2 separate regions of the Homo sapiens genome follow, and region 2 is linked to region 1. Evidence: promoter capture Hi-C in 16 types of primary human blood cells and fetal thymus (Javierre and others, 2016). All regions are on one chromosome and are shown on one strand. Each heading gives the region's core, a stretch centred on a gene start or on the middle of the fragment in contact. The rest is flanking DNA. Distances are from core to core; before and after follow the strand shown.

What was found. Contacts are between HindIII fragments. The CHiCAGO score rates a contact against its expected background, and 5 or more counts as called.
Region 2: a contact is called between a fragment that was not itself captured here and the fragment with the promoter of LPCAT2 in region 1, in 1 of 17 cell types (monocytes). The highest score is 5.5, in monocytes.

What each region holds. Positions count from the first base shown.
Region 1 is chr16:55,507,338-55,511,950 of GRCh38, forward strand. LPCAT2 (lysophosphatidylcholine acyltransferase 2) reads left to right here and starts at 1,735. Exons shown (of 14, transcript NM_017839.5): 1 at 1,735-2,015. The coding sequence starts at 1,845. The HindIII fragment of the contact is 4,685 bases long and covers 1-2,583 here.
Region 2 is chr16:55,662,847-55,667,708 of GRCh38, forward strand. The region is part of intron 2 of SLC6A2 (solute carrier family 6 member 2); the gene reads left to right. Among named protein-coding and RNA genes, the nearest start is that of SLC6A2, 9.3 kb to the left of the region's middle. The HindIII fragment of the contact is 4,440 bases long and covers 1-3,749 here.

The DNA of each region.
Region 1 (4,613 bases), core at 485-2,984:
CATACCCAGCTAATTTGTTTTGTATTTTGGTAGAGACAGGTATCACCGTGTTGCCCAGGCTGGTCTCGAACTCCTGAGATCAGGCAATCCACCCATCTCGGCCTCCCAAAGTGCTAGGATTATTGGTGTGAGCCACCACTCTCGGCCCCATCTTTTCTATCTTTTATCCTCCCATGGCCTGTCCCCTTGACTCAGATTCTTTTTGTTTCTTCTTCTTCTTTTTTTTTCTTTTTTGAGACAGTGTCTTTCTCTGTCACCCAGGCTGGAGTGCAATGGCATGATCATAGCTCACTGCAGACTTGATCTTCTGGGCTCAAGCAATCCTCCCACTTCAGCCTCCTGAGTAGCTGGGACTGCAGGCATGCAACAGCACAGCCAGCTAATTTTTAATTTTTTTTAGAGATGGTGGAGTCTCTCTTTGTTGCCCAGGCTGGTCTCGAACTCCTGGGCTCAAGGGATCCACCCTCCTCAGCCCCCAAAGTGCTAGGATTACAGGCGTGAGCCACTGCACCTGGCCTGGCTTAGGTTGTTGACAGTTGGAAAGACATCTTTCTGTGCAGGTATCTGGCTAAAGAGTCTCAAGGGTCTGCCAGTCCCAACTTGAAGACCCCCTAGACTGGGGAATCTTCTATCATGGCTGTAATGCACTGTTATTAATGTTCCCTGTTACACTGAGAGAAAAGTCAGTGGCTCCACAACATAATAATGCTTAAAACATGCCATTTCTTCAGTGTTTCTCTATGAACACTACACATGCATTATTTTATTTAATCCTTGCTACAATTCTATGGAGTTAGAATGAATCTCCCATTCCTAGACAAGGAAGCAAACTCAGGTTAAGTGACTGACTCAAGGCCACACATCTATGTGGTAGGGCTGGAAGATTCTGACATTCAGAGGGTAACTTTGGAGAACCCCAGGGCTCAGACTCAGATTTTCATCCTGGCCTTCCTACCTGCTGTGAGAAGAGTTGATCAGTTGGGATGAGTTGATTATCATCTCCTTCCTTTAACTCTCAGCCACTCAGGGTTGATCAACTGTCCTCAGATAATGGGACAAACCCCTGCCCTCCCACCCCCACGAGCACCCACATAGGTCCAAACAGGCTTGAACTTCCTCAGTGTGAAAGGGAGCCACAGCCCAATACATTTCCCTTTTCTGGGTCAGGTTCCTCATCTAGCGTGGAGGGCAACTGTAATTTTTGCCTTTTCTGGTAATAGTAGCTCAGTTTTCCTCTGGAGAACCATCTCTCCCCTGTCAGTCCATTATGTTTTGAGTGAAACAAATTCCACTCCTAGTGCCATCATGGGTGTATTAATATTAGCTCACTTAATGGAACAGCCCAGGGGAAGTGGTTGCTCAATGGCATTACTGGATCCAGGTTAGGATTATCTGAGAATACATTTATCTGCATTTTACGGAAGGCAACCGAGGTTCATAGAGATAGTGATTTGGCCAGCGTCACAGGCCCAGTAAAAGGGATTGAAAATCCAGGTCCGTCCGACCCTAAAGCAGGGAACTCTGCCTAGTGTCTCGCTGTGGAATGTTAGGGATCCTGGGGTACCCTTCAGGGTCTTGGCTCGGAAGGAAAACATTCCCCTCCGAGGGGATGGACTATATTACCAAGGGGGTGGAGCCAGATGCCTGAGGGGGTGTGGCCAGAGCCTGGGGCGTGTCACAGCCGAAGGGGCAGGGCGGCAGCAGCAGGCGTCTAAGTAACTTCAGCGCCTGCGCAGAGGCTCCCCAGCGTCGCCCTAGGCTGGGACTCTAGTAGGTCTTCGGCTCAGTTTTGGCTGCAGCGCCCGCGTAGATCGCTTCGGCCGGGTTCTACGCCCGGCTCAACTATGAGCCGGTGCGCCCAGGCGGCGGAAGTGGCGGCCACAGTGCCAGGTGCCGGCGTCGGGAACGTGGGGCTGCGGCCGCCCATGGTGCCCCGTCAGGCGTCCTTCTTCCCGCCGCCGGTGCCGAACCCCTTCGTGCAGCAGACGCAGATCGGCTCCGCGAGGCGGGTCCAGGTGAGGGGCGTGGGTCTGAGGGGAGAGGTGGTCTGAGGGGGGCCTAGGTCAGAGGGGGGTCCAGGTAAGGGGTGTGGGTCTGAGAGAGGAGGGCGGCCGAGGGGGGCGTGGGTCTGAGGGAGTGAGGTGGTCCGAGGCGGGCGAGAGTCTGAGGAGGGAGGTGGCCTGAAGGGGGCATGGGTCTGAGGAGGGAGGTGGCCCGAGGGGAGCCAGGGTCTGGGGCGGGTCCAGGTGACTGGTGTAGGTCTGACGGGGGAGGGCGGTCGAGGGGCGCGTGGGTCTGAGGGGCGTTGTGGGTCTGGGAAGCAAAGGCATCAGAGGAAGAAAGAGCAGTGGATCTGAGAGGAGAGGACTTCTGAGGGGCCGTGAGCCTGAAAGGGGCGGAGATGTGTGTCTGAGAATTGAGGACATTTAGAGGATGGTCTGAGCGGGCACGGGAGGAGAGAAGATGCTGGGAAGATGCGGGCCTGAGAGGAGAATCCAAAACAGGAAGAGACTGAGCTGGCTGGTGGCGCAGGCTACATTCCATGCCCCAGAAGGTTGAAGGAATCTGTGAATCTGTGACAGAAGCTTCAACTTGAGTTTATGAGAGTGTAGTGGGAGGCAGATCTACTACGGGAGAGTAGATTTGAAGAAGTCTTTTTTTTTTTTTTTTTGCCTTAGGAAGGAGAGGAGTCAGTATGGGATGGATAAGAGTGAGGCAGAAGGCAGAGAGCCTAGGTCTGTGGTTAGAACAACAGGTAAGGCTGGAAAGATTTAGCTGAGCAGGAGCATGATGGAGGGTGGGAAGTCAGAATCAAAGAAAAGGGACAACTGAGTCAGCTTAGGATGTTCAAGAAGTTTTGGTCCAGAATCAGTCTTCACCTAAAAACGTTTCCTAAGTTGAAGCATGAGAAGTAGTAGCCCAGGCTGTTTTCCATTGTTAAAAATGGCTATACTGTTATGCACAAAGGAAGTTTCCTTTCCTTTCCTTTTTCTTGTAAAGGGTTCCTTTTACCATTGGCAGTTGCACTCTTTGGACTTCCTCTTTGTTGAAGTTAGTGATCAGAGAACAAGATAGACCCTGCTAACCACATTTGTCCGTGTGTTCTGCGGGGGTTGGGGGGGTGGGGGAACAATTTTGAAGTTTTCATGTCCATCTCACACATTACTTTGGATTTGAAGCAGTATAATATTTGCAATCAGCTTGTATGCACTAAGACCATTGTCCTCTACAGTGGGGGAAGGTTAAGTGCAGAGCTAAACAACACAGGTGGTGGCTTGAGTAATGGTAGATGGGTGTCTGGTTGAAGAGGGGTGTGAGAGAGGAAGAAGATAAAGAATGTAGTAATACTGCTTTGTGAGGAAATTAAACGTTTAAAAATGTGATCCTCATGTCTTTAAATTAATAGATATTCTTTTTGTGTCTTCACATTCTGAAACATTTGTAAATACATAGACCATTGTTCAAGATTAAATTTAGTCTGATTTAATTAAATCATACTTAAATGAAAATATGCCCATCTATTTGACTTCATATTTTGGAAAGAAACAGCATGGAATGTTGACAAATATTTATATTGCACCTATAATAAATTATTAAGTTTTTCCATCACCTGGTTTGTTACTGTTTAAAGATCTCTTCCAAATAACTCTCTGAGAGTTATAGTATAATGGAATGATAGCTAGTCAGTTATAGGAACTGGTCATTTATTAGTTGTATGACTTTGGCCAAGTCACTTAACCTCTCTGAACTATACTTTTCTCGTCTATTACATTGGAATATTAATAACTCAAAGGAGGGCTACAATTAAGTGAAATAATCTGTTATTGTTTGTTGATCTTAATATTGATAATATTGATAGTTATCCTATATATTTTCTACAAAGTATATACTGTACTTAAAATTTACTACTTGGATTAAATGGGATTTAACAAAGTCTGGATATTAAAAATACTTTTTAAATTTATATAGATCAGAGATACAAGAGGTTTCAGTGGCTTGAATCATCTGGGTAAAGGGAAGATTTGAATAGGCATGGTAGAAAAACAATGTCCATATTATCCAGTTTAAAAGGTGGACACACTTTCATTTAAGTATGACTTAGTATGATTAATTTAGACTAAGTTTAATCTTAAATGATGATCAATGTCTTGCTTAAGGACTGTTGTCCTCACATTTCACTAAGATAGTTAAACAAACAAGTACAAAAATATATAATCTCATGTTTTAGTAAGTGTAATGAAGGAAAACCAGAGAATAACACTGAGAGAAGGCCACCCAATGGAGATGACATATTACCAAATGGAAATATGATGAATTCTCTTAATTTGTCAATGAGTTAACTCAAAATTGATTTACTGTTAGACACTATTATTTGTTGCAAACCTTGAAGATGGCACAGAAAAAAAAGTTGCCTAATATTTTGCAACTTGTTCAATTAAAATCCATATGGGTTGCTCAGTGTAGACATGAGTGACTCTTATGCTAATATACTTTAAACTCATTCCAACTCTTTCTTCAGGGTCTATGCTATATGGTCCTTTCTTTCAGTCAAGATTATTGCTTGTTTTTTAATAATGATACCTCTTTGAAGAGAATCTCAGCCAGTGACCTAC
Region 2 (4,862 bases), core at 280-2,779, 160 kb after region 1:
ACAACAATCAACACAGAAGACGTCTGTGACCACATGTTTGGGGGTTTCTCCCAGCACATCAGGCAAGTAATCAAGTCTGCAGCAGACACCAGCTGAGTGCCTCCGATTCAATTCAATTCTGGTGCTGTCTACCTGGAGATAGCATCAGATCCCACAGGTTGAGGCATTCCCACAAGAATGCCCCTCACTTTGTGTTCCTATAATGAGCCCCAGGTTGTTTTACTGTGCTTCTGACCCACTGTCTATAAATCAGGGTTCCCCCCACCCCTTGCTTGGGTTTGATTAATTTGCTAGAGTGGCTCACAGAACTCAGAGGAACACTTTATTACATTTTCTGCTATGGTTTAGATATGGTTTGTTTGTCTCCACTAAAACTCCTGTTGAAGTTTGAACCCCAGTGTGGGAGTGTTGGGAGGAGGGGCCTAGTGAGAGGTGTTTGGGTCATGAGAGTGGATCCCTTATAAATGGATTAATGTCCTTTGGAGAGGGTAAGTGAGTTCTCACGCCACTCTCTTGGTTCCCCTCTTGCCATGTGATCTCTGTACCCCTGATCCCCTTTCCTTTTCTGCCATGAGTGGAAGCAGCCAGAGGCCCCCACCAGATACAGCTGCCCAACCTTGAACTTTCCAGTCACCAGAATCATGAGACATATAAACCTCTTTTCTTTATAGATTCCCTAGCCTCAGGTATTCTGTTATAGCAATGCTAAACAGACCAAGGCACTCCCTCACCTTCACCTTGGGTCCCTCCAGCTGAGGTCTTACCATAGCTCTGTGTACTACTATGAAACCTATCTGTCTATCTATCTATCCATCTGTCTATCTATTGTTCTATTGTTCCTGGCTCAAAATACCAATAGCCCTTGTTGTAACATTGGGGCACGTTAGGCCTCAGAAAACAGAACCTCTCTCTCTTTGACCTTCTCCTGCCCTCCTTCCATCTGCTCCCTTATCTCTCCAAGGTAGGATTTTTCCCTGGCTTTTCTTTCTTGGAGCTGGCAGTAACAAAATTCTCTGACCCACTTTCTAATTGTGAGTCATAAAACCCCCATTTCAGAAGGAGTCCTGCCCCAGGCCCTGGGGGAAGGAATGCTGCACAGGGAGACCGAGAAGAATCTGAACAGACAGGCCTTGCTGGGCTTTCCCACTCAGCTTATTAGTATTACATCATACTCCATTCAATCATGGTGGCCAAACATGCCTATCCAATGACATCTCCATAGAAGGCCCAAGAGGACAGGGTTCAGGAGCTTCAGGAGAGGCAAACACGTGGAGGTTCCTGAGTAGGAAATGTCTGAGGGGCCATCTCAGCTTCAGAACTCTTCTAGGGTCAGCTAAGGTTTGGCCTGGCGTATCCTGTCCCCCGCTCTGGCCGGTGCTTCCATTCCCTAAATCTCTTCACTGCATGCATCCCCCTCCCACTACCTTCATGCCATCCTTCATGCAGCACTACAGGGCATTCTTTCTAGGTAATGGGGCTGGCTGTGGCCTGGGGGCATCCTTTGTCCTGCATTTGCTCATGGTCAGCACTCTTGTTTGCACACAAGAGTAGAGTAGCCAGCCCCACTTGGGACAGGGACTTGGGGATCCCAGAGCACTGCCGCAGAGTCCTGTGTGTGGCCTCCAGCTGGCGTTCATGCTGTGCTCCACAAAGGGCCCAGCCACCCTCCACCACACAAGACAGCCTTTACTTCCTGTTTCCAGTGGACAGAGCTGCTGCACATCTGCTCTTGAGTATAATGACAAGACATGGGTCCCATTTACGGAGCACCCACTAAGTGCCTGGCACTTCACCTCTGTCATCTCTGATTATCACAGCAAACCAGTGACACAGGTATTATTATCGCATTTACAAAGGGGGAGCTAAGGCTCAGAGAAGGCACATTTAGACAAGTCACATAGCTACACATAGCAGGGCTGAGGGACAGGATTATCTTTAGGTCCAGGCATGAAGGCCTGCCCTACCTCCATGCTTCAGAGAGCACAACTCTGCCCCCTTTCCATCTCATGGGAGCCAAGTGTGCCTGCCCACCCAGCACACTCCCCATACGAATACCCCACCACCCTCCAATACCCGGACGGTGGAATTCCCTGCCCAAACAGCCTCAGGCACCCTTCTGGGTCTACATGAACATCTTGCTGGGTTCCCTCTTTTGTGGTGTGGGCTGTGCTGCGGGAGGTGGGGGTGTCTGCAAGGCGGGTGGACATAGCTTGGACACCTATGTGCAAGAGCCCTGACATGGCTAGATTGAGCTGGGAGGAAGTAGGGGCAGGGCAAACGGGTCTTCCCCTGTACCTCCACATTCCAGCCTGGAGCTCCAAGAGCTGAGAATTCCAACCTTGAACTTTATAATAGAACTACTACAAAGGTCTCTTTGTCAAAGTAGGAAGACAGAACATGTTTTATTTAACAGTTGTTGATTTGTCACCTTTAAATGTGTCGAAGTGTGAGCAGCCTTGTCTCCTGACTAAAGTTTCACCTTCTCCTGATGCCTACTGTGCTGTTAGGGCACCCTTGGGGTGTTGGGGAAGGGGGACAAATCTAGCTTCCCTAAGTGTGGACCAAGGTTTTCTTGGGGGCTCTGGTGCATGACACCAGCAGCGACAGCCTGTAGCTGAGCTGTGTGTATCAAGGGAACTATTCTGTGGATTGGCACTTCTTGCATATATCAAGGTGTGGCCAGAATTCACAGTTCGAGGAATCCTGTCCTCAACAAACTAGGTGTCAGGGGAGCCTCTCTCCTTCCTGAAGCTCCTCTTTGACCACACTACCTCCACCTCCCCCGAGATCCTCAGCAGGTCTTGGCCACTGCACCCCTCACTGAACCCTTCCTCCAGGCTTTCCAGCCCTCTACCTGGGGTCCTCCTCACCTGCTGGGGGCTGCTCCAGCACATCCCACTCTAAACCTAATGACCCCGGGCTTCCCTTCCTGGGTACTTGGCATTTGCACAGAGGCTTCCAGAGCCCTTCTGTACCCAGAAGAGTTTCTCTCTAACAGTGGGATGGGAGGCAGTGTGGTTGGGCCAGAGGTGATGGGACTAATGCTTTTCTTACTAAATTCATCCAAAGGCCACTGTTCAGAGTTTCTTTCATGGTCGACAGTTCTTTTTCTCATGTGGTTGTGTGAGTGCGTTGACATGCAAAAGTGTGTGTCCATTTTGCATGAGTATGCACAGGTGTGCATTTGTGTGCATGCATATGGTTTTTGGAGACTCCCAGGCACTGGGCACTGAGCTCCTCATGAGGCATGCCCTGCCTGTGTTTTTCCAGGTCTGCCCTCACCAGCCCAGCACCCATGCAGCCAGGGCATTCCAAGATAAGATTCTGGCCTTGCAGTTCTGAGACTCTCGGACCCTGTGTGAGGCTGGTTGCAGCTGGCACTGCCACACATGGAGATGGAGCAGGACCACACAAGTATGGCAGTTACAAGCCTTGCAGAGCAGTACTTTTTAGGGGGTTTGCAACCAGCCTCGGTTTCCAGAGAACCACTGCAGAGCTGTTTATAAAAGAGGCAACTTCAGTTGACTTCACTCATCCCTGGAGCTCCTTCCTGACTCTTCAACCTGAAGAGTTTACTTCTGCAAGAGGAGAAGGAAACTCTCCCAGGTTTCCTTCTGCAAGAGTCCTTGGGCAAGCTAGCTGTCCTCTTTTAGAATAAGGCACTGGCCGCGGGTAGCTGGCTGTTTTTTCATTCCTACTTAGCCATTTCACCACTCTTTGGTCTTCTTAATCTGTTTCCACCTGAATGAAGCTTTGGCTGGCCCACATCAAATGCACTCACAGAGAAGAGCCGCAGGCACATGCAGACCCATCATCTTCCCTCCTTTTCTCATGTTACTGTGCCTCCCAGCCAGCAGAGGAAGAATAACTCCAAACTGGGCAGTTTACCTATGTGTTGGCAGTGTCACCCAGAGGTTTAGAGTTGAGGAAACTGGCCAAAGTGAGATGCCTGGTTAACTGGCTGATGCTGCTTTTCCCCTTCCTTGGCCATGCAGCAGAGTATTGAGTCGCTGGGGGCAACCCACAGTGGCGAGGTCGGAGCAGCGACTCCTAGCTTTTTCCTTCCCCACGTTCCCTTGGGCCACTGACTTCCATCTTCAGGCCTATCAAAGATTTTTTGTTTATTTGTTTGTTTTGTTTTCTTCTCTCTTTTTCTCTCTCTCTAAATTTTTTTTTTTTGAGTCAGCATCTCACTCTGTCACCCAGGCTGCAGGGCAGTGGCATGATCATAGCTCACTGAGCCTCAAACTCTGATGCCCAGGCTGTTCTTGAGTTCCTGGGCTCAAGTAAGCCTCCTGCCTTGGCCTCCCTAAATGCTGGGACTACAGGCATGAGCCACTGTGCCTGGCCCTATTAAACAGTTTAATACAGCTATCTAACTGCCCCTTGCCCTGGCTCTAGATCCTCAAGGGGAGTAGCAGTTGGCCACAAGGCAGAGTGGGGCTGCGCCAGATCCAGGTTTGAAGCCAAGCTTCATACTTGCTAGTTGGACAAGCAACTTAACCTTTCTAAGCCTCAGTTTCCTCATCTGTAAAAGGGATTGTGGTAATTCTCTCTCAGGGGTGGTTTTAAATAAATAATTATGTAAAAACTTGTGTGCAGCTTGGCATATAACAGGTGCTCAACAAACGGTACTTGTTACTTTCAGCAACCCCACTGCCTACCTCCATCTACATCAGCACACCAGCACCACCATTACTGTCAGCAATGTGCATAGGGACATGGGTCAGGTGGCAAACCAGCCCTTTCTATGTGGGAGAGGGAGAAAGGAAGAGAATGAAAGGAAGAAATGAGGAAGGGGAGAAATAGCACATGGCCACTCCAGAGACTTCCAGCCTGGAGCAGTGGCTGTAGCATTGGGC